Regions from separate parts of the Homo sapiens genome. Here all the other regions are linked to region 6. The links are contacts of gene promoters, found by promoter capture Hi-C in blood cells and fetal thymus (Javierre and others, 2016). All regions are on one chromosome and are shown on one strand. The core of a region is centred on a gene start or on the middle of the fragment in contact, and the rest is flanking DNA. Distances in the headings are between cores, read along the strand shown. Region 1 overlaps LOC105375716 (a long non-coding RNA gene). Region 2 overlaps LOC105375716 (a long non-coding RNA gene). Region 3 overlaps LOC105375716 (a long non-coding RNA gene). Region 4 overlaps LOC105375716 (a long non-coding RNA gene). Region 5 overlaps LOC105375716 (a long non-coding RNA gene). Region 6 holds the start of EXT1 (exostosin glycosyltransferase 1). Region 7 overlaps LOC105375716 (a long non-coding RNA gene).

Region 1 (3,323 bases), core at 616-3,115, 720 kb before region 6:
AAAGGATTTGCATGTAATCAGGACCCAAAGCAGCAACATTGGAAACTAAAACTTCTGCATGGGAATGGGGCAACTTGAGAAGGAAACATGCCCCATGGGCACTTACTTGGTAGTGAAGGTAAAAAAATATATATAAAAACAAGAAATTGAGATTTCTGGTGTGTGTGCACGTGTGTGTGTGTGTGTGTGTGGGTGTGTGTGTGTGAGAGAGAGAGAGAGACAGAAAGTGAGAGAGAATCACAAAACAGAATACACAAAAATTTTCCACACACAAAAATAGCTAAATTAATTAGAGAAACTACACTTCACCACACTAAAGGAAGAGGGTAGTCTTGAACTAAGAGAGAGAGAAAGTGAGAGGGAATCACAAAACGGAATACACAAAAATTTTCCACACACAAAAATAGCTAAATTAATTAGAGAAGCTGCACTTCACCGTACTAAATGAAGAGGGTAGTCTTGAACTAGGGAGCTTGATAAGCCTGTCAAAACTTTCACTTTTGTGTGCATACAACTGCTATTGCTGGTCCAGAAAATTAGACATTCAAAATAAGTATGAAAAGTAGATAATATCCATACAAAGTTAGACAAAAAAGAAACAAATTAAGAATTAAAATGTACCAGCTGTTAAAAATACTCCCCAAAATGTCAACCATGAAGTAGAACAAAACTGCAACATAAGAGCTCCATCTGAATTAAATATCTGAAAACAAGAATTTGTATATGTAAAATAAGTATCTCAAATCAGAAAGGTAAAACTCATAGCAAATATGAACAAAAATTAGGAAGATGTAAAATGACTGAACACAGGAAAGAAATAGTAGAAAAAATCAAATTCATCCTAGAAGTGAAGACATTACAAATTGCCTGAATGAGAAAACATTGGATTGAAATTTAGTAGGGACAATTGAATAGTCAAGAAAATAAAAACAGGGCAGAGAATAAAAATAACAAAAAGGAAATAATTTAAAAGGATCAAGGGAAAGTATTTGGCATAGGCAAAGCAGATGCAATATACATATAATTGGAGTCTCTGGGGGACCAAAAACAAAAAAACAACACAATAGAACAACATTTTAGATCACAATCCAATTTTTTTTTCAGAAATAAAAGACCTATTTGCATAAATTAAAAGGACCTATGGTGTATAATATGTAGTGAAAATTGTCCTCATGGTCTGCAAAGCAAAACAACAAAAAAAGCCCCACATTATTTATAAAGGAAATCAAATTGGCATAAGATTTCCCTACTGCAACATGCAAAGACAGATAACAGTGGAGAAACCTTTTCAAAAAACTCAAAGAAAGTGCGAGCCAAGGATTTCATATCCAGCTAAGCTGTCCTTCAAGTGTCAAGGTTATATAAACACATTTTTAAGATATGCAAGAATCTAGGGATACTGTACATGTGCCCTTTACAAGAAAATCTACTAGAGGACAAATTTGTCCAAAGTAGAAATAACTGAGGAAGCTTTTTTTAAAGGCAGAGAAATGAAAAAGGAAGGTGAGAGTCAAAGTATGTAAGTTAAAGCTCAGAAACCAAATAGTCAAACACCAACTAAGTAAAAGGAGAATGAAGAACATTTTTCACCTGCTAGTGTATAGATAACTACTAGAACACAAATAAAAGTACTTCTAAGTACAAAAAGATGTAAGAAAAAGTAAAACAAAGAAAATAATAGACATTGACCGATAGATGCTGTGAAATACCACCCAAGTCCTCCTTCACTGATTGAGAGAAAAGTATAAAAGCCCAGCTCCCCTTTTTACTCTAACTCAGGATAACTCTGAGAGGCCATCTTAGCTTCAGAGATTTCTACGGGTTTCGCTGAGGCCTTTATTGTGTTTGCATCACTGCACAATTTCACTTTCTTCCTTATCCCACTTCCTTTACCTTCCTTCTACAGGTGTTCATCAAAGAGTATCTACTAATATACACCTAGCATGCTAATCTGCATCTCATAGTTTACTTCCTAGAGAATGTAACCAGTGATGGTTGACCAGAAGTGGTCTTGCAGATGCTAAAATTGAATTTTGGAGCTGGATCACTTACCAGCTAGCTGGCCGGCAATGAGAACCCCATTACTGATGGTTAATCAAGCATAAAGTAGCAGTGAAACACTTTCACTGGGGCAATCTGGGATGGTGTATTGTTTAATGGGAATGCACTAATTGCTGCAAGGTATCAGCCATTGGGAAAAAATTAAGGAAATAGAAGCTCTAAGGAGAGTGGAATTGGGTGACCTATTGCTAAACTATTGCTAAGCTTGATGGATGCCCTGGGGAAAGATAACATCATCATCAAATCATAATCAATAATCACCAAATAAAATCTAAATGTGAAAGGCAGAAAGCCTCCTTGGTAGCATAACAAAAACTTCCTAATCACTTGCAACAGAAAGGTAGTGAAACCTAAGGATTGGTTTTAAGATTTAATAATAAGAGTAACTGCGTTCCAAAGAAGGTTAATCTCTATCATGACACATGAGATGGCAAAATCTGAGTTGATGGACCTGAAAATCTTGAATGCCCTAATTCCATTGAATCCTTTGAGACTAAGAAAGTAGCCTACTCCTCCTACTAAGCATCAGTACATTCCCTCAACTCTTGGGTAAGGGAGTGAGAAAATCACATTAAACAGAATGCACACAACTCCTCCCCCACAAAAAGAGAACAATTGATTAGAGAAACCACTTCACCATTCCAACAGAGGAGGGCAGCCTCTTCCTGATATAGGTGTCTCTCCTTTAAACAATCAGCACCCACTCATGATCTTTCATTATCTCATTTCTTTGCTTTTAAGTCCAAACCTAGAGTTAAGTCATAGTCTAACCCAGCCAGGAGTGTGTTCAGCCTGGAAAAAGGTGGACGGTGACTGCACAGCTGCATGACCTAGTCAACATTTACCAGAAGGAGCTGGAAGAGCACACATGAGACTGATTACAAAAAATGTTCTGCCAAGGGCAAAAGAAAAAAACCTGGATAAGAGGAATTTATCAGTATGGGAGTATTTAACAGCCTGGCAAAAAGCCCTCGGAAGAGGGTGCAAACACACTGTAAGGATGGCCACTAGAAGTATGAAAAAAGCAATGGCCCCCATGTGGTGAGAAATAAATTCCAGAATTTTTGTGGCAGATAGTAGAAGAAACAATTAAAAGAATCAAAGAAGTGGACATGTTAGAGTGGATATACTACAGAGTGGATATACTACATAAAGTGAGAAAACTCACCAGATAGTGATATTCCATCACTGAGGCCAGAGGATCCACTATTTGTCAAAGGGCTAAGGAAGGAGCTGGTGAGAGGGACATCGGTGTCATTGCG
Region 2 (3,216 bases), core at 281-2,780, 690 kb before region 6:
TTCTACCAGATACCCCAAATCATCTCTCTCAAGTTCAAGGTTCCATAAATCTCTAGGGCAGGGAAAAATGCTGCTAGTCTCTTTGCTAAAACATAACAAGAGCCATCTTTGCTCCAGTTCCCAACAAGTTCTTCATTTCCATCTGAGACCACTTCAGCCTGTATTTTTATTCTTCATATCGTTATCAGCATTTTGGTGAAAGCCATTCAACAAGTCCCTAGGGAGTTCCAAACATTCCCATATTTTCCTGTCTTCCTCTGAGGCTTCCAAACTGTTGCGATCTCTTCCTGTTACTCAATTCCAAAGTTGCTTCCACATTTTTGTGTATCTTTTCAGCTATGTCCCACTCTACTAGTATCAATTTACTGTATTTGTTTGTTTTCATGCTGCTAAAAAAGACATACCCAAGGCTGGGCAATTTACAAAAGAAAGAGATTTATTGGACTCACAGTCCATGTGGCTGGGGAGGCCTCACAATCATGATGGAAGGTGAAAGGCATGTCTCATATGGTGGCAGACAAAAGGAGAGCTTGTGCAGGGAAACTCCCATTTTTAAAACCATCAGATCTCATGAGACTTATTCACTATCACAAGAACTGTGCAGGAAAGACCTGTCCCCATAATGCAATCACCTCACACCAGATTCCTCCCACAGCATGTGGGAATTATGAGAGTTACAATTCAAGATGAGATTTGGGTTGGGACAGAGCCAAACCATATCAACATTCTTCACAAAATTGGAAAAAAACTACTTTAAAATTCATATAGAAGAAAAAAGGACTCTGTATAGCCAAGACAATCCTAAGCAAAAAGAACAAAGCTGGAGGCATCATGCTACCTGACTTCAAGCCATACTACAAGGCTACCATAACCAAAACAGCGTGGTACTGATACAAAAATAGACACATAGACCAATGGAACAGAATAGAGACCCCAGAAATAAGACCGCACATCTACAACCATCTGGTCTTCGACAAACCTGACAAAAACAAGCACGGGAAAGGATTCCCTATTTAATAAATAGTGCTTGGAAAACTGGCTAGCCATATGCAGAAAACTGAAACTGGACCACTTCCTTACACCTTATACAAAAATTAACTCAAGATGGATTAAAGACTTAAATGTAAAACACAAAACTATACAAACCCTGAAAGAAAATTTAGGCAATACCATTCAGCACATAGGCATGGGCAAAGATTTCATGATGAAAACATCAAAAGCAATTGCAACAAAAGCAAAAATTGACAAATGGGATCTAACTAAACTAAGGAGCTTCTGCACAGCAAAAGAAACTATCATCAAAGTAATCAGACAATCTATAGAATGGGTAAAAATTTTTGCAATCAATCCATCTGACAAAGGTCTAATATCCAGAATCTACAAGAAACTTAAACAAATTTACAAGAAAAAACAAACAACCCCATTAAAAAGTGGGCAAAGGATATGAAAAAACATTTTTAAAAGAAGACATTTATGTGGCCAAGAAACATATGAAAAACAGCTCAACACCACTAATCATTAGAGAAATGCAAATCAAAACCACAATGAGATACCATCTCACATCAGTCAGAATGGCGACTATAAAAAGTCAAGACACCCTCAACCTCTCCCTCTCCCTCTCCCTTCTTTGGTCTCCCTCTGTTGCCAAGGCTGGACTGTACTGCCGTGATCTCAGCTCGCTGCAACGTCCCTGCCTCGGGCTCCCGTGATTCTCCTGTCGAGTGCCTGGGATTGCAGGCAGGCGCCGCCATGCCTGACTGGTTTTTGTATTTTTGGTGGAGATGGGTTTTCGCCGTGTTGACTGGGCTGGTCTCCAGCTTCTGACCTCCAGTGATCTGCCCGCCTCGGCATCCCGAGGTGCTGGGATTGCAGACGGAGTCTCACTTACTCAATGCTCAATGTTGCCCAGGCTGGAGTGCAGTGGCGTGATCTCAGCTCGCTACAACCTCCACCTCCCAGCCGCCTGCCTTGGCCTCCCAAAGTGCTAAGATTACAGCCTCTGCCCGGCCGCCACCCCATCTAGGAAGTGAGCAGCATCTCTGCCTAGCCGCCCATCATCTGGGATGTGAGGAGCCCCTCTGCCCGGCCGCCCTGTCTGGGAAGTGAGGAGCACTTATGCCCGGCCACCACCCCTTCTAGGAAGTGAGGAGCATCTCTGCCCAGCCACCCATCATCTGGGATGTGAGGAGCACCTCTGCCTGGCTGCCCCCTCTGGGATGTGAGGAGTGCTTATGCCTGGCCACCCTGACTGGGAAGTGAGGAGCGCCTCTGCCCGGCCACCCCGTCTGGGAGGTGAGGAGCACCTCTGCCCGGCTGCCACCCCGTCTGGGAGGTGAGGAGCGTCTCTGCCTGGCCGCCACCCCATCTAGGAAGTGAGGAGCGCCTCTGCCCGGCCACCACCCCATCTGGGAAGTGAGGAGTGCCTCTGCCCAGCCACCACCCCATCTGGGATGTGAGGAGCGTCTCTGCCTGGCTGCCCCATTTAGGAAGTGAGGAGCGCCTCTGCCCAGCCGCCCCGTCTGGGAAGCGAGGAGCGCCTCTGCCCGGCCGCCCCGTCTGGGAGGCGAGGAGCGCCTCTGCCCGGCCGCCCCGTCTGGGAGGTGAGGAGCGCCTCTGCCCGGCCGCCACCCCGTCTGGGAGGTGAGGAGCACCTCTGCCCAGCCGCCCTTCGTCTGGGAAGTGAGGAGCGCCTCTGCCCGGCTGCCCCGTCTAGGAAGCAAGGAGCACCTCTGCCCGGCCGCCCCGTCTAGGAAGCGAGGAGCGCCTCTGCCCGGCCGCCCCGTCTGGGAGGTGAGGAGCGTCTCTGCCCAGCCACCCTGTCTGGGAGGTGAGGAGCGCCTCGGCCCGGCCGCCCCATCTGGGAAGTGAGGAGTGCCTCTGCCCGGCTGCCACCCTGTCTGGGAAGTGAGGAGCGCCTCTGCCTGGCTACTGTGCAATCTTCCAAGTGTGAAGTGACAGCCTTTCTGCAGGTGTACCCAACAGCTCCGAAGAGACAGTGACTATCGAGAACAGGCCATGATGACGATGGCCATTTTGTCAAAAAGAAAAGGGGGAAATGTGGGGAAAAGAAAGAGAGATCAGATTGTTACTGTGTCTGTGTAGAAAGAAGTAGACATAGGAGACTCCATTTTGTTCTGTACTAAGAAAAATTCTTCTGCCTTGGGATGCTGTTAATCTATAACCTTATCCCCAACCCCGTGCTCTCTGAAACATGTG
Region 3 (3,457 bases), core at 10-2,509, 760 kb before region 6:
CACACTGACTTCTACAATGGTTGAACTAGTTTACAGTCCCACCAACAGTGTAAAAGTGTTCCTCTTTCTCCACATCCTCTCCAACACCTGCTGTTTCCTGACTTTTTAATGATCGCCATTCTAACTGGTGTGAGATGGTATCTCATTGTGGTTTTGATTTGCATTTCTCTGATGGCCAGTGATGATGAGCATTTTTTCATGTGTCTTTTGGCTGCATAAATGTCTTCTTTTGAGAAGTGTCTGTTCATATCCTTCACCCACTTGTTGATGGGATTGTTTGTTTTTTTCTTGTAAATTTGTTTGAGTTCATTGTAGATTCTGGATGTTAGCCCTTTGTCAGATGAGTAGATTGCAAAAATTTTCTCCCACTCTGTAGGTTGCCTGTTCACTCTGATGGTAGTTTCTTTTGCTGTGCAGAAGCTCTTTAGTTTAATTACATCCCATTTGTCAATTTTGGCTTTTGTTGCCATTGCTTTTGGTGTTTTAGACATGAAGTCCTTGCCCATGCCTATGTCCTGAATGGTATTGCCTAGGTTTTCTTCTAGAGTTCTTATGGTTTTAGGTCTAACATTTAAGTCTTTAATCCATCTTGAATTAGTTTTTGTATAAGGTGTAAGGAAGGGATCCAGTTTCAGCTTTCTACATATGGCTAGCCAGTTTTCCCAGCATCATTTATTAAATAGGGAATCCTTTTCCCATTGCTTGCTTTTGTCAGGTTTGTCAAAGATCAGATAGTTGTAGACATGCAGCATTATTTCTGAGGGCTCTGTTCTGTTCCATTAGTCTATATTCCAGCCATCCCATTACTGGGTATATACCCAAAGGATTATAAATCATGCTGCTATAAAGACACATGCACATGTATGTTTATAGCAGCACTATTCACAATAGCAAAGACTTGGAATCAACCTAAATGTCCAACAACGATAGACTGGATTAAGAAAATGTGGCACATATACACCATGGAATACTATGCAGCCATAAAAAAGGATGAGTTCTTGTCCTTTGTAGGGACATGGATGAAACTGGAAACGATCATTCTCAGCAAACTATTGCAAGGACAAAAAACCAAACACCGCATGTTCTCACTCATAGGTGGGAATTGAACAATGAGAACACATGGACACAGGAAGGGGAACATCACACACCGGGGACTGTTGTGGGGTGGGGGGAGGGGGGAGGGATAGCATTAGGAGATATACCTAATGCTAAATGATGAGCTAATGGCTGCAGCACAGCAACATGGCACATGCATACATATGTAACAAACCTGCACATTGTGCACATGTACCCTAGAACTTAAAGTATAATAATAAAATTTAAAAAATAAATAAATAAATAAAATAAAATCTAAAAAAAAAAGAAGACACAAATCAATGAAAAAATACTCCTTGTTCATGGATTGAAATAATTATTATTAAAATGTTCATGCTACTTAAAGCAATCTCTAGTTTCAATGCAATCCTCATCAAAATTCCAATAGCATTTTTCACAGAAATAGAAAAAAATTCTAAAATTTGCATGGTACCTCTAAAGACCCTGAATAACAAAAGAAATCTTGAGCAAGAAGATGAGAGCTGAAAGCACCATACTTCCTGATTTCAATTTATATTACAAAACTATAAAAATTAAAATAGTATGGTATTGGCATATAAACAGACACATAAACCAATGGAACAGAATCGAGAGCCCAGAAATAAGCCCATGGATATCTTGGCAAAGAGGCCATGAATACAAAGCAGGAAAAGGATAGTTCTTATTAAATGGTGGTGGGAAAACTGAATAGCCACATGCAAAAGAACAAAATTGGACCCTTATCTTACACCAGACTCAAAAATCATCTATGAATGGATTAAATACTTAAATGCAAGACATAAAACCATAAAACTCCTAAAAGAAGAAAGCACATAGAAAAAGAGCTCCTTGATATTGTTCTTGGCAATGATTTTTTGGATATGACACCAAAAGCACAGGTAACAAAAGCAAAAGTAAACAAGTAGGCCATACAACTCAAAAGTGGAAAAACAAATAACCTGATTTAAAAATGGGCAAAGGATATGAATAGACATTTTTCCAAAGAAAATGCCAACAGGTATATGAAAAGGTTCACATCACCACTCAACAGGGAAATGCAAATCAAAACCACAGGGAGATATCGCTTCACACCTGCTGGGATGGCTTTATCAGAAAAGCAAAAGACAAGTGTCGGTGGGATTGTAGAGAAATAAGAACCCTTGTACACGGTTTGTGGGAATGTAAAATGGTACAGACACCATGGAAAACAGTATAAAAGTATCCCAAAATGTGAAAAATAGAACTACCATATAACAATCTCACTTCTGTGTATACATCTAAAGGAAGTGAAACAAGTATGTTGAAGAGGTATTTGCACTCCCATGTTCATTACCGCATTATTTACAATATAATTGTTTGTGTATATATATATATACAGACACACACAATGGATTATTATTCAACCTTAAGAAAGAAGCTGGAGAAAGGGCTGGGTGTAGTGGCTCATGCCTGTCATTCTACTTGTGATTAGTTTGGAGGCCAAGGCAGGAGGATTGCTTGAGACAAGACTTGGCAACATAGCGCAACCCCTGTATCTACCAAAAATTAAAAAATTAGCCAGGCATGGTGGCACGTACCTGTAGTCCCAGCTATTTGGGAGGCGGAGGGGAGAGGATTGCTTGAGCCCAGGAGTTTGAGGCTGCAGTAAGTTATGATTATGCTGCTGCACTCCAGCTTGAGTGACAGAAAGACCGTGTTTCAAGAAAAAAGGAAACAGCCTGAAAGACATTATACTACATGAAATAAAACAGACACTGAAAGTCAAACTTTGCGTGATCTCACATATATTGAAATTTTAAAAGTTGAACTCATAGAAATGGAGTAGAATGGTGGTTGCTTGGGTTGCGGGTGGGGTAAAGGGGTCATGTTGGTCAAAGGGTGCAAACTGTCAGTTATAAGTTGAATAAGTTCTGGAGATCTAATATATAACATGGTGACTGTGATTCATATTAAGTTAAAATATAGTTAAAATTTTCTAAGGGAGGAAATCTCAAGTGTTCTTAACACACACACAAAAATAACTGTTAGGTGATTGATATGTTAATTAGATTGATTGTGGTAATCATTTCACAATGTATACACATGTCAAAACATCACATTGTACACCTTAAATATGTAGAATTTTTATTCAACAGTGATAGCCCAGTAAAGCTCAAATGAACACAAAACAGTGTTGCACCAGTTGAAGAGTTTACACTTCTCTATAGAAGCTTATACAAAGCTTTAAAACAAGACTGGAAGGGTGAAGTTAGCCTAGATGCAAACTGACTCTCATAATAAAGAAAAAAAATATGACACTCTTTTTAGGAAGAAAACAAAATCCAGATACTCAACCAGGTAACAGTTACAATACTCAGCATCTGATCTAAAATTACCAGGCATG
Region 4 (3,460 bases), core at 137-2,636, 800 kb before region 6:
TTTTGTAATTTTTCTGCTTATATAACTATTCAGGACTAGATTTTAAGCTACTCCAAGACATGTACACATTCCAATATTTTTTCATATCACCAAAGCCTAGAAGGCCCTCAAGTATTTAATTAAATTTATTATCAAATATTTATGAGTACTTGCTATGGATTAGGCACTGCTATGGATGCTAAAAATTCAAAAGTGAATAAAACTGCATCTATGTGGACAGACCTAGAGCAGTTACTGTCTGCTGCTAAGCTTTCCACTACAGATGCAAGTTTTTAAAAAAGTCCTTGTGCTTTCTATCTCATTGTGGCAGCCAATCTTGAATGGGGGAACACAGGAAAAAACACGGTCATACAGGGAAAAACATGGAAAGAAAAAAACATTTTTGCAATTCATAAGAATTTTCGTAAATCATAAAAAGCCTGTTTTACCAAAAACAGAATAAAAATTTTCAGTTTAAATAAAGTATGTAAAAAAAAATAAGCTCTGCCCTCTTGGAATTTTCATTCTAGTGTTGTAATAACAGATAACACCAAATTAAATGTCATGTCAGACAGTGGTCTAAGAGCATCAGGCATATGTTAATATGTTTAATCTTCACAACAACCATACAACATAGATACAACTATTGTTTTAGTTTAGATTCTCCAGAAGCAGTCCTGACATAAGAATTTATGTGCCAATAGTTTATTTGAGTAGCTATCCCAGGAAACACGATAGGCAGTGGGTGCGATAGGGGAGAAAAAAAGATAATAAAATACAGGTTGTCAAGTGAGTTATCATAATATGTAACTGGAGCTTAATCTCATTGAGAAACAATAAAATATAGGCAGAATAAACCTTAGCGTTATATCAAACTAGGGGTGAGGAAGATGAGATATTTGTCTACTATCTCTGTGCCTATTATTGGTTGAGTGCTCCTCCTGAGTCCTCTGGATGGGCTGACTGTACTTCTATGACAAGAGGAAAAAAAAGAAAGAAAATAAAAGCTCTTCAGCAGAGATTCGTAAGAGTTTTATCGTTAGCAGCCTTCAGGACATACAGGTAAATGCTAAGGGGATGTGGTGGGACAACAATTTTTGTTGAAATGATGTTATTCCATTTTACAAATGAACAAACTGAGGCACATGGCGGTTAAATGACTTCCTAGAAATATAGACCTAACAACTAATAGAGCAAGAGTTTAAATCCTTGAAGTCTTGCTCCAGAGTATGTGTTCTTAACCATTATACTATGCCCCATCACAATATGGAGAGGAAAGAAGAATGAAAGGAAGGAAAGAAGAATGAAAGGAAGGAAAGAAGAGAGGAAGGGAAGGGTTATAGTTCCTCATGAACATATTTTATTTCTACTACTAGGCTTATGCTTCTAGAGAGTAGAACTCAGATTTTATTCCTCTTTATTTCTCTCCTTCAGCCAACTCTTCAACCTACCCTGAACACTGCCAAAAAATGTCTTGCACAAAAGAGATAATTATAAGGCCCTCATCACTAGGATTTTTATTATTAAAAACTATATTTTTAATTCATTATACAGTGTAGACTAGCAGGCTTTGTAGTCAGAAAGACTTGTATGAATAATTTATTCTCAACATTTCACCTTCCACAGTTCATAATGGGTGCTTCATAAATGGTTTCCTATTTGTAATATTACATGACATTTTACAATTTACAAAAAAAGTTTATATTTCCTTATTCTATTTATCTCTCCATGAGTTACTTCATGTGCATATTCCTATTTGCACTCTCAATTGCCCTAAATTGTATGGAAGAGATAAACAAAGGTCATAGTCTGTAAAAATAAAAATAAAGATGTGTTTTATTAGATTATTTTTTAGCAAATATTTTCTCTCTGTCTCTCCCATGGGGTAGAGTATATTTTCCTGGTCCACTGACTTGAGAACATGTGATTTGTTTTGACCAAAGGAATATGAACAAAAGTGGTAATGCGCCAATTCCAAGAAGAGGTTTTAAAAATCACAGCTAGGCCGGGCGCGGTGGCTCACGTCTGTAATCCCAGCACTTTGAGAGGCTGAGGCGGGTGGATCACGAAGTCAGGAGATCCAGACCATCCTGGCTAACACAGTGAAACCCCGTCTCTACTAAAAAAATACAAAAAAATTAGCCGGGCGTGGTCGCGGGCACCTGTAGTCCCAGCTACTAGGGAGGCTGAGGCAGGAGAATGGCGTGAACCTGGGAGGCGGAGCTTGCAGTGAGCTGAGATCGTGCCATTGCACTCCAGCCTGGGCGACAGAGTGAGACTCCGCCTCAAAAAAAAAAAAAAAAAAAAATCACAGCTAGTTTTCTCTAGCCCTATTGTGTTTCTGCATTTTGCCATGGGATGAACATGACCATGATTCTGCATCTTGATCTTAGGTTCTGGAAGGAAAGGTACAAGGAGCTGACATGAACCTGATTTTTAACCTGAAGCAGACAGAGTTGGGACCAGCTGGCCTGCAGTCCTGTGAGCAAGAAATCGATGTGCATACTCATGAGTAAACCATAAACATTTGCTGTTATAACCCAGGAAGCTTTGGGAGTTGATTTTTATGTGGTGTTATGGCAACAATTGTTGATGAATGTGGGTATACAGTATTGGAAGTTCTCATGTGTCTTTGATGGCCAGCCTCTCAGTGCTTACAGAGCTCCTCAGCCTCACCAGATATTTCCCACTTGAATAATGAAGTTGTATGGTTGGGAATAGACATTTTGGCTATTTGGGTCAATAGGTTTAGGACCTTTGGAGGATTCAAGACTGGTAGAAAACCACAGCATGGTCTAAGATGCAGGTGTTCATGCCTGCAGGTAAGTAGATGCATCATTAACTTCAATAATAATAAATAAAATTTAAAGAGATTTTTCGATTATCATAAACTGAATGAACTAAAATTAACTTTCTAACAAATAGCCACAAATTTCTAGCGTGTTTATCTTTCCCATATGTTTCCCAGCTCTGCTAAGTTGGAAGCCTCAAAACCATCAACCAATAAATCATTCCTTGGGTTTCACTTTGGGGACCAATTAAAACTATCAACATGTTTTCTTCCATTACACTGGGAGTTTTATCTCCAGCTGTTGGGATCTGAGCTTCTAAAAGTATGAAGCATGACTACCCAGGGAAAAGGCACGTGAGACAATTGGAGGAAAATAGACTCTATTGAAAGCTAGTTTATGTAAGCTTAGTGCTTCCACCCTCCTCACTTCATTCAGAAGGCACAAGCTTTACTAAACATGTGGTAAATAATACAGCTGGCACCACAGCAGGAAAGGTGCTGCCCCTAAACCTGGAGGGAGAGCTCCTGGCAGATAATCCAAGGGCTGGTAATTTATCACTTATGCAAACACAGCACCTCTTGTGGGTCTCCTTTTACATCTCCTGTTCTGTGAAACTTTCCACTGAAGACTTGGATAAATGTTTTCCAGATGGTATCAATCATGGAGTTACCTACTAATAGGAATCAAGG
Region 5 (3,347 bases), core at 370-2,869, 700 kb before region 6:
GGGTGTCTTGGTGGGCATAAGGGATCTCAGACTTATTCTGGCTACATGCCCAAAATTGGCAATACAACGAGCCCTTTGCCTTAGCAGAGAGAAACCTCCTGTTAGAATCCTTATGGGAAATGCGTACAAGCAATTCCTACCCTCAGAAACAGGAATCCTGCTGGCAGTTTGTTCTGTTTAAAAGAAAAACAGAAAAGAGAAAAAGAGCTGATGTGGCTTCATCAAGACCTATATCCTGGACTTCATAAAAATAAAAAAAAAGCAAATGAAACAATTCCTGATTTGTGCCCTGAAGGGGTTTTGCAGTTTTCTTATTCTATCTTGCACAGAAGTTCTGAGCTCAGAAAAAAAATAAGGAAAATAAATCTAATGAATAAAATATTGAAGGGGTTGCAATTCTTGAGAACCAAAAACAAAAGAAAAATCACTTCCTCAGCTGGTTTGGGTTTGAGGGACTGGGATTCAACTTACAAACATCTTTGAGTGATGCAGCTCATGACCCTCTTTCTTTCTACTCTAATCCCATAGTTTGTACTTAGAGATCAGTCCATTTGCAGCCTAGTCTGGAAAATCAGTGTTGTCATAGAAAAGGTGAGGTAAGATGCAAGTTGGGACACTAAGACATCTTTTGTAGAGAGGTGAGAAAACATTTCAGTAGCATCAGTGTCACCATAATGTAGGAGGACACGAGCGGGGGCATCTCGGACACAGAAACTCCAAAAAGCCTCAAGACCTGAGGTGATTCAGGCAATTGCCAGTGTCTATCTGAACTGTGGCACACAGGGATGAAGATCCCAGTGGTGAATGATATCTGGAAGAGGCAAAGAGCAATAGACACTAGGTTTGTCCATGTGGATTTCTCACAATTGGGTAGAAATATAGGGGAGCAGAATTCAGCTTTGGAACAGAAACCTTGTAAGAGCCAGGCATTCACGGCAATACCCTAAGCTTGACTTGGTGTCTAATCAGGGACATTAAGCAGAAACTATGAAGGTCAAAATAAAAACAAAGAAGTTCTTACCCTTGGCTGGGACCCATATATAAGTGGAAGGAAAAAGGCTGTTGTTTAGGGCTCCACAGATGCTCATTCCTGGTACATGGGGTCCTGAGCCAGGTTGGCATTAAGGTAGCTCAGAGGGCATGTGGCATCCCATCAATCATAGCTCAGACACTGGACTTGGGGTCTGAGACATGAGACTTAGTTCCAAGGGCCACTGGATGGGGGTAGAGAGGGTGAGGCTTCCAGCATACTTCTTGCTCTCATCAGGAGTGTCTCAGGATCTGAGATGAGCATTGATTCACAAATGGGGCCTGGCTGCTCTTGTTTATGGAGGGCATAGTATATACCAGGCATTAGATGATATAAATCTGTTATCTCACTTGTTTCCAGGAAATGCAATTGGGAAGCTGAAGAAGATTATAGTATTTCTGGCAGTCAAGATTTGGAAAGTTACCTACTAAGAAGCTACAATATGCTCAAGATACTACTATATCAGAATAATTTTTACCTAATTAAGAGAATGAAAATTTTATTTACTCAACCAAATAGTGAGTTAATATATAGGAAATATATGTTCTGTATCAAACAGAATAGAAAACAATGGCATTGAGATGTATACCAGTGCTCTCATAATGACTGACCTGTCATGTGTAATTGTGTGTTATTTTCTATATACACTCCATCTGAATGAGCAATAAAACTAGCTTGAGGAAGAATAGTTTCTTCTCTGATCATTGTATTTCTTCAGGATTTCTCATTGCTCTCAGACATGCTACTTGTGATTTTCAGTTAAACTTGACACATTAGCTTTGCTAATATTTTAAACTTACTAAATTTGTTCATGTCCTCTTTCCTGTGTGTCTTCCCTCACTTTTACCTTGTGTATTAAGTACCACAAAAGAATATTGTCTGAAACAAATGGCATGCAATCCTTGGAGGATAGATTTCCATGCTACTATAGAGTGAACGTCTTCCATAGTGAAAGGCTTATATTTAATATGTGAATTGTGCCAGAGGTGGTTCAGCCAGGTAAAATGCTGGTATTACCTTGAAAACATGGGCGTATCCATCTTCCACTGAGCTGTGTGTTCTGGTTTGGGCTTTTGTTGATATGGTTTTGATGCCAAAGCAGGAAAAGCTGTTTCCTGATAAAAAGCAGAAACCAGACTCCTTGGTGCCATTGTTCATTACTGCCTGATCAGACAGGGAGAGTATGATATAATCTGACAGCTGAGAAAGTTGTGCGCTCCTCACCCACTAAGCACATGTATCTTTTTGAAGAACCCTGCTGAAAGCTTGCACTCTGAGCCCTGAAGCCAGATTTTGCTAAAGTTCTGTGATTCCACCATGGTTCCCTGATGAAGTAAAATATATTGTGTATAGACTGCAAGCTAGGATTGTACTGCTGAAATTTGAGATCTAAATATAAGTAATCTAAACTACAAGTAGTCTACATTACTGTGCCTGTAAAAGTTTACCTTGTGACACCTGGATTTAATATATCCTGACAATAGGTGCAGTTTGTTCAGAGAACGACCTTCAACTTTATATAGAAGATAAATGCCTGATTGTAGGTTATCTACATGCGTTTTGGATGGAGAGAGCAGAGGCAGGAATGCCAATGCAAATGTTAAACATACCCTTTCTATTGTTTTATTAGGACTATACATTATTAAATGGGACCTTCTTTACTCTTAATGTTTCTATTAGAGTAACATTCTTGGCTTCCTCTGCATCCTCACTAATTTTTCCTAATGGGAGGAGGATTAAAGTATCTGAATAGCAAATTTAGGAACAAAAACTGGTCATGTTTGACTGAGTCCCTTCCCTTTGCCTTTCTTCTTTGGATCTATGTGATTTTAGGAAAATATACTCTACTTTGTTCTTGGTCATACAAAGAGCTTCACAGTAGCAACCTTGTCCTTTTGTTGTGGAAAATCAGTGGTTGACCAGTGCTACTTGACATTGAGTGAATAAGTCTGTATTAATGTGGCTACATATTAGGAAGCCCATTGTTTTCTCACAGGGCCTAAGCCTCAATTTCCAGTAATTCCATCAATAATGAAGTAGGAATCTTTATGTTTGTCTGCTTAAATTTTTGTCTTTCTCAGTGAAATCAGAACTCAGGCAAGAAACACGATAATATACTCTATTAGGTTGCCTAAAACCCCAATATATTCCATCAGTAATTTTCATGTTGTACAGGTTTGTTAATTTATGTCCTTTAGTTAACCTCTAAACAGCACCATAAAGATGATTTTAAAGGGTGACAATTACATTTCTAATGATGTAGTCCTCTTATAATCTCTCCCCTCATAATATCCCCTTATTTTTATCTAGCCATAAG
Region 6 (3,111 bases), core at 213-2,712:
GGTCGGAAGTTTTCAGTACTGATGCTGGCTTTGGCCAGCATCGCCTGGCCGATGTCAAACCCCACGTCCTCGGTGTAGTCAGGCCAAGTGCCGGAATATAAATTAAAAATTAAATGATTCCTACCATTGTTCCACAAGTGGAGACTCTGCACTTTGGATCTCAAATTGTGCACATACTGAGGTGACAACTGGTCTCTGTCTAAAGTATCCAGACTCAGGACAAAGAGGCACGCCTGGCTGGGGTCCGAGGTGTAGAACCTGGAGCCCTCGATGGCCGCTAGAATGTTTTGGTAACTTTCGGCGATTTTCTCCCCTTTTTGCTGTGGGTATACGTAGACTTTGAAGCCGTTTTTCTTGCAAAGGGTGAAATCGAAGCAGGACTCCATGCGGCACTTCTTGCCTTTGTAGATGCTGGAGTTGGCATCTCGCTTCTGCCGGGGGGAAATGTGCACGCTGGAATCCTCGTTTTCCAATTGATCCCAAGGAACGAAGGGGCGCAGAGCGTCCGGGAAGCGGGGCCAGAAATGATCCGGACTGGGGTGGTGCAAGCCATTCCTACCGCTGTGTTCTTCTCTCCGGCTGTGGCTCCTCGATGCCCTAAACTGCAAGCCTCCGAAATAAAACAAAAGGGCGAGACAAGAGCCAGCTGAGAGCAGGATGAAATAGCGTTTTTTGGCCTGCATGTGTCCTGCCTGGGTCAAGAGGATTGTAAATAAACACAAGAATCACCCAAGTTTCCCAATCAACACTTTCAGCTCCAGTCCGCCATCTTCCCGCCTGTAAAGACTTCAAACTCTCCGCTCCCACCTTCTCTGGATGCCTTTCCCCAAGCCGTGGACTGATCCAGCGCATGTGGGCGATTTCTTTAACTTTCTCCCCTTCGGTCTTTCATCTTTGGGTTGCACAATGCACGGGAGAGAGCGGGGCTGAATATCTCGCACCCAGGGCGGGCGAGCAGCGGACTGTAATTTTCTTGCATGCAACAAGACGGAGGAAAAGAAAGAGAGAGGGGAGAAAAAAAAAGCTCCCGATACCCAATCAATGGCAAGACGAAGTGATTGCCTTGCCTCTCGGATTCCTCTCGGCAGCGTGGAAAATGAGCCCCGGGAAGGCAACTTCAACTCATCCACCACTCTCCGTGCAGAGCACTCCGGTTCCAACAAGTCAGCCGATCCCGGGTTCAGCCGGCTAGTGCATCTTGCAGCTGGGGCGCCGTAACCTCACAAATCCCTGCATCTCTCTTTATTCCCTTCTGCAGCGGCTCCAAGACTCCGGCGGTGTTTACTCCTGCGCTCGCGGGGCCGGCCCCCGGGACGCGCGGCGGCCCGGCTGGAGGCGGCGGCGGCGGCGGCGCTGGGTGGCGGCGGCGGCGCGTCCTCCCCGCGGGCAGTGCCGGCCCCGAGCAGCGCTTCGCAGGCCCCCGCGCGAACGCTGCCGACCGCCGCGTTCGGTCGCCGAATGTTACCCGGTTCTGAATGTTACACTTACACATTCCATTCCCGACACGACAGCGCTGACCTCATCCATCCACGCAGCCCGCGCTGCCATTGGCCGAGCGTCACGTCCGGGGGGGGCGGTGCTTCCGCTGCGCCCATTCATAACCCCCGGCCGCGGGCCGAGGCGCCGGCGCGGCGTTGGGGGCGTAGGGGGCGCAGGGAGCCGGGGCTCCCGGGTTGCAAGCTGCCGGCGGGCTGCCGGGCAGGTGGAGCGCGGGACGGCCCGGTGCGAGCCCCGCGGCCCCTCGGCGCGCCCAGGCCCGGATCTCGGCCTGCGCCGTGCCGGGGACCAGAGGCGCCTGCGGAAACGCGGCGGCCGGGGAAGGAGGCACCGGCAGGGGCCCCGTGCCGCGCGGCCCCGGGCGCCCTGGAGAATCTGGCCTCCTGGGCTGCCTGCCGGAACGCCTAGAGAAAGATGCTTTGAAGGAGGGAAGCAGGGAGGAAAGGAAGACTTCATAGAAAGCGACCGCCGATCCGAAAGCTGCCTCTCCCAGCCCTCCTTCCACTCTCCGAGACCCAGTATTTCAATTTTCTGCTAAGCATTAAAACAATCTCCCCTTACTCCTCCTCTACATAGCACATTTTTTTAAACCAAAGAAACACCCCAATGCCCAACAATAAAGAGGAATTATTACAATCAAGAGGAATTGTTGCAATTCTTCATGCCTGCCTCTGTGCTAAGAGTGTAAGACGGCTATCCTAAATCCTCATTATCTACTTAGGCCGCCTTGCCTGAGCCCCCTCTGTCTATTATGAAGAAAGCTTCCAAGAGATCCAATCACAGAGAAAAAATAAATTTTCTAATGGCTGCAGGGAAACCAGTTAATTTAAGCTTGCCCCAGTCCTCAAAGTGATGTTATTCTCTTGGTGGTGGTGGTGGTGGTGGTGGTGTTAAAGATATCTCTTAAGGACATATGACTGGTAGAATTGCCAACTGTCCCAGCTATAGAAGGAACACTTGCATCAGGAAAACTACCTTATGTACAATTAGTGCCAAATAGTTGGTCCTTCCCTCACTGACCTCCCACTCCTTGGCCCAAGCTCCTGCCACTCCCAGTGGAAGAACTTCATTAGATAACTCAGGTAACCGAGGAGCAGTCCCGCTAAAGATCCTCCAGGTCCACAAAGATGTGCTAGGCTCCCAAACAGTATCTCTGGTCAAAGTCAAACTCCCTGGCCTCAGATCCTGAACACTGCTTTACAGAAAACACCTCCCACCCTCTGGCCTAGCTAAAGTCTCAGGGCTCGGGCAAGCTAGACAGTTGCCTAGGGCAGCCGGCTGTTTAGTGATTGTTTATTATGGGAGTGACTGAGAGCTAGGAGCAGACACTTCCCGGCTTCCCTCAGGCTGCAAAAACCCCAGCGGGGTGTGGATGAAGGGCAGGGTTATAACAAGGCAGTATGAAATGATAGAGTGGAAAGTTTCAGACCTCTGTTGTTTCAGATTTGTTTTAATAAAGCAGGGAAGGGGCATGGGTGGGACATTACTATACATTCGTGAAGCCTCTCCCTATTTCTGACCTGCCAAAGATGAGACAGCTTTTCCAGATTTGACTTGAACCCCCTGCACAATGTAGAGAGGCCTGGGACAGGAATAAGGATTCAGTCATCTTCC
Region 7 (3,652 bases), core at 793-3,292, 740 kb before region 6:
TTTTACTTTGCCTTCATTCTTGAAGGTTATTTTCATGGGATATAAATTTCTGGGTTGAAAGTTTTGTTTTTCTCTTAGCTTTAAAGACGTTTATCTTCTGTCTTATGGCCTCGCTAGTTTCTGATGAGTATTCAGAAGTCTTTTGAATTATTGTTTCCCTATACATTATATGTTGTTTTTCTATAGCTGTTTTTTAGATTTTCCTTTCATTTTTGTTTTTAACACTTTGTTTTATTTATTTGTTTTTCAAGTTTCCACCATTTCATGTTTTTAGCACTTTGAGTATAATGTTCTTAGGCATAGTTTTCTTTATAATTATTCTGCCAAGGGCTCACTAACCTCCTTTAGTTACCATATTTATGTCTATGGCCAAATTTGAAAAAAATGTACACCATCCATTCTTCAAAATTTTATCAAGGCATTATATATACAACAAAAATTAACTATTTTAAAAAATATACAATTATTTTAAAGCTTATTGTATAGTTTAAAATACACAATTGGTGGTATCTAATACATTCACAAGGTTGTGCAACTGTGGTCTCTAGCTCAAAAATGTTTTCATTACCCCAAAGAAGAGCCTGTACCCATTAAGTAACCACTCTCCACCCTTTCTCCATCCAACCCCTGACAACCACCAGTATGCTTTCTGTCTCTATGGGTTTATCTATTTCAGATATTTTATATAAATAAAATTGTATAATATATGACCTTTCATGCTTGTCTTCTTTTGCTTAGCATAATGTTTCCAAGGTTAGTCCATGTTGTATTTAATAGTATGTGTCAGTACTTAGTTCTTTTTGCCAAAAAATATTCCATTATATGTCTATATCACAGTTTGCTTGCTCATTCATCCACTGGTGGACATTTGACTTGTTTTCACCTTTTGGCTATTGTGACTAATGCTTCTGTGAGCATTCATATGCAAGCATTCATGTGCAAATATCTGTTTAAATACCTCTTTTTAATTCTTTTCCTCAGTGGCTGCACCATTTGATGTTCCCTCCAGCAATATATAAGGTCCCAATTTTTCCACATCCTCACCAACACATTTTTTTTTGTTTTCTTTTAAATAGCCATCTTAGTGAATGTGAAATTGTATCTTTTTGTAGTTTTAATTTGTATTTCTCTTATAACTAATGATACCAAGCATTATTTTTCATGTGCTTCTTGGCCATTTGAATACCTTTTTAGAGAAATATCTTTCAAGTATCTTGACCATTTTAAATTGAATTATGGTCTTTTTGTTGTTGAGTTGTAAGAATACCTTATATATTCTGGATATTAGACCTTTAATAGATATATTATTTGCAAATATTTCTCCCATTCTATTGGTTGCCTTTTCACTATCTTTATAAGGTCCTTTGATGCACAAGAGTTTTTAATTTTGATGAAGTCTTATTTTTTGTGTGTTTGTTCCTTGTGCTTTTGTGATCTCAATTTCTTCTGTTCCATTGTATATCTTTTATCCTCAGCAATTACAATTATATACACATTAGATTTTAGACATTGTCTTACAGTTTTATGAGGCTCTCTTATCTCCAGACTCTTTTCCTTTGCCATTTCCATTCAGTTTTTAAGTCCACCCAAAAAATATTTCTTTTACATCATCATACATAGCTGCTTTAAAACCCATATAATCTAATTACAGTTGGTCTTAGTAGATTGTTTATTCTCTTGAGAGTGGATCACATTTTCCTAGTTCTTCAAATGTCGAGTAACTTCTTATTATATCCCGAAAGGCGATATTATAGATTCTGTTATATTCTTCCAAAGAATGGGCTCTTTCTTTTAGTAGACAGTTAACTTGGTTGAATTCAAGTTACAAAAAAATCTTTTTGGGAACAGCTCAGATCTCAATTCAGTGCCCTTATCTCTAGCTGGACTGCTTTGATTCTGCCCACGTATGTGTGGTTCCTTGGTTATCTAGAAATTTGGGCAGAATTTATTTCCAAAATGTGGGGCTCACTCTCTTGTTCTTTTTTTTTTTTTTCTGAATCCTTACCTACCTCAGTTTTCAGCAAAGGTAATTTCCCTGAACTCTGTTCTCTGGTTCTTTAGTTCAGAAAGTCTGTCTCTTTTCTGTTGGAGTTTTAGGCTTTAGCCTACTTTCAGACTAATACCTGCAATAATGAAAAAATGCACCTCATTCTTTTTCCTTCTGGCAAGTTTTGGCACTTATTTACAGTCTGTCTTATTTTGTTCACTCCCTAGTTTCTACAAATATTTTTATGTTTTGTTCAGAGTTTAGAATTGCCATTCATAGGAATGTAGACCATGATGGGGCTTACTCTGCCATACCAGATACAGAATTGCCTCTAGTTCGTTGAAAATATTTCTATCACAACACTATATTTGATTATATAATAGCTATTTATGCTTTATTTTTCCTGTCCGACTACATTCTTGTTGTGCATAAAGAAGAGTCTTCTTTTAAAGTTGTGAAAATATATAGTCTTTTTTTTTTTTTTTCTGTTTAATGAATTCCTTTTGGAAACTCCTGCTACTGCTTCTGAGATAGTATCTCCATCACACAGACTCATATTTCCCTGTTTAAGGGATTTGGCCATTTGGAGACAGTTTATCACCTTATGTTATTAAAATTTGAATGGCCCACGTAAGCCAGAAACTGCCATGAGTCTCCTTCGCGACATGTAGAGAGAGGTTTCCTGAAATGAAAACCTGTAAGGAGTAAGATGACCTGAGAGAAACAGAATGGAAGAGAGGATCTTGGTGGCATAATTTAACTTTAGAATTCCCTTTTGCTTAAAGCCAATTTCACTCCTTTGCCCTCCAAGTTACAAAAGTCATAAATATCTATGAGAAAAGAGTTTGCATTCACTTTCTGACACTGACAACATATATAATACTAAATCCTCTATACCTGGAAAAGATAGATAGTGAATTCTTGGATAATAAGTGAATGACTGATGATAGGTACATATACAATATTACTGGAAAGGGGTAGCCTCTGAGTGAGCATGGCATAGGCATCCCTAATTATCAATGAGGTCACTTACAGGGAAATCAAACCACCTTAGTTCATCTTTCAATGTTGTTCAGGACTGACCTGACCTCTATCTGGAATCTGTGTATCCATTTTCACCTCTGCTAATATCTAGGCAAGCAATGAAATAGACATTTGATTTTTGTGGACAGCCTTCTTATACATTTCCTCATTTTCAATAATAAGAGCAAACTGGTGACATGCATGTTTGCTAATTTTTTTATTGCTTGTGCTAAGTGTTCCATTTTGAGAAGAAAGCAATTTGGCAGTGTTTAGTGACCCTCTTTCTTAGTGTCTTCACCTTGGCATGTTTTTCTGTCTCTGTCAGACCTGTGAGAAGATAGTTGTTGCTCAGTGATATGTTGTTCACAGAGGGGAAAGCCTCAGTCACAGGGTCTGTCTCCAGTAACATTTACAACACAGGGAGTACCATAACCAGCAGAGTTTGTGAAACCTCTTTCTTACAGCGTGCCAAGAATTCAATCTGTTTCTGGTTCCTGCAAACTAACAAAGCTGTTGCTATGTTATCACTCTAAAAGATGAAGCCATATAGTCATATGTAGGCTTCCCTTTATACAGTAAATACTATCCACTGATAGACCAAAAGCTTAGAAAACTGTATCTCAAAGGTTAACGTGTCTATTA

What was found. The method cuts DNA at HindIII sites, captures the fragments that hold promoters and counts their contacts. A CHiCAGO score of 5 or more calls a contact.
Region 1: a contact is called between a fragment that was not itself captured here and the fragment with the promoter of EXT1 in region 6, in 6 of 17 cell types (total B cells, naive B cells, naive CD4 T cells and 3 more). The highest score is 15.1, in total B cells.
Region 2: a contact is called between a fragment that was not itself captured here and the fragment with the promoter of EXT1 in region 6, in 6 of 17 cell types (naive B cells, naive CD4 T cells, total B cells and 3 more). The highest score is 7.0, in naive B cells.
Region 3: a contact is called between a fragment that was not itself captured here and the fragment with the promoter of EXT1 in region 6, in 2 of 17 cell types (total B cells and naive CD8 T cells). The highest score is 7.9, in total B cells.
Region 4: a contact is called between a fragment that was not itself captured here and the fragment with the promoter of EXT1 in region 6, in 1 of 17 cell types (naive B cells). The highest score is 6.3, in naive B cells.
Region 5: a contact is called between a fragment that was not itself captured here and the fragment with the promoter of EXT1 in region 6, in 4 of 17 cell types (total B cells, naive B cells, naive CD4 T cells and 1 more). The highest score is 10.2, in total B cells.
Region 7: a fragment that was not itself captured here is called in contact with the fragment with the promoter of EXT1 in region 6 in 2 of 17 cell types (naive B cells and total B cells); the score reaches 5.3 in naive B cells.

Annotation. Positions count from the first base shown.
Region 1 is chr8:117,389,252-117,392,574 of GRCh38, forward strand. The region is part of intron 4 of LOC105375716 (a long non-coding RNA gene); the gene reads right to left. Among named protein-coding and RNA genes, the nearest start is that of MED30, 130 kb to the right of the region's middle. RefSeq lists an enhancer at 1-27. The HindIII fragment of the contact is 795 bases long and covers 1,469-2,263 here.
Region 2 is chr8:117,424,574-117,427,789 of GRCh38, forward strand. The region is part of intron 4 of LOC105375716 (a long non-coding RNA gene); the gene reads right to left. Among named protein-coding and RNA genes, the nearest start is that of MED30, 95 kb to the right of the region's middle. The HindIII fragment of the contact is 6,383 bases long and covers 1-3,216 here.
Region 3 is chr8:117,349,575-117,353,031 of GRCh38, forward strand. The region is part of intron 4 of LOC105375716 (a long non-coding RNA gene); the gene reads right to left. Among named protein-coding and RNA genes, the nearest start is that of MED30, 170 kb to the right of the region's middle. The HindIII fragment of the contact is 4,045 bases long and covers 1-3,282 here.
Region 4 is chr8:117,313,326-117,316,785 of GRCh38, forward strand. The region is part of intron 4 of LOC105375716 (a long non-coding RNA gene); the gene reads right to left. Among named protein-coding and RNA genes, the nearest start is that of SLC30A8, 180 kb to the left of the region's middle. The HindIII fragment of the contact is 2,278 bases long and covers 248-2,525 here.
Region 5 is chr8:117,407,117-117,410,463 of GRCh38, forward strand. All of the region lies in intron 4 of LOC105375716 (a long non-coding RNA gene), which reads right to left. Among named protein-coding and RNA genes, the nearest start is that of MED30, 110 kb to the right of the region's middle. The HindIII fragment of the contact is 1,347 bases long and covers 947-2,293 here.
Region 6 is chr8:118,110,364-118,113,474 of GRCh38, forward strand. It overlaps EXT1 (exostosin glycosyltransferase 1), which reads right to left and starts at 1,463. Exons shown (of 11, transcript NM_000127.3): 1 at 1-1,463. The coding sequence starts at 683. RefSeq lists silencers at 1,316-1,405, 1,506-1,885. The HindIII fragment of the contact is 5,337 bases long and covers 1-2,256 here.
Region 7 is chr8:117,369,288-117,372,939 of GRCh38, forward strand. All of the region lies in intron 4 of LOC105375716 (a long non-coding RNA gene), which reads right to left. Among named protein-coding and RNA genes, the nearest start is that of MED30, 150 kb to the right of the region's middle. The HindIII fragment of the contact is 3,140 bases long and covers 473-3,612 here.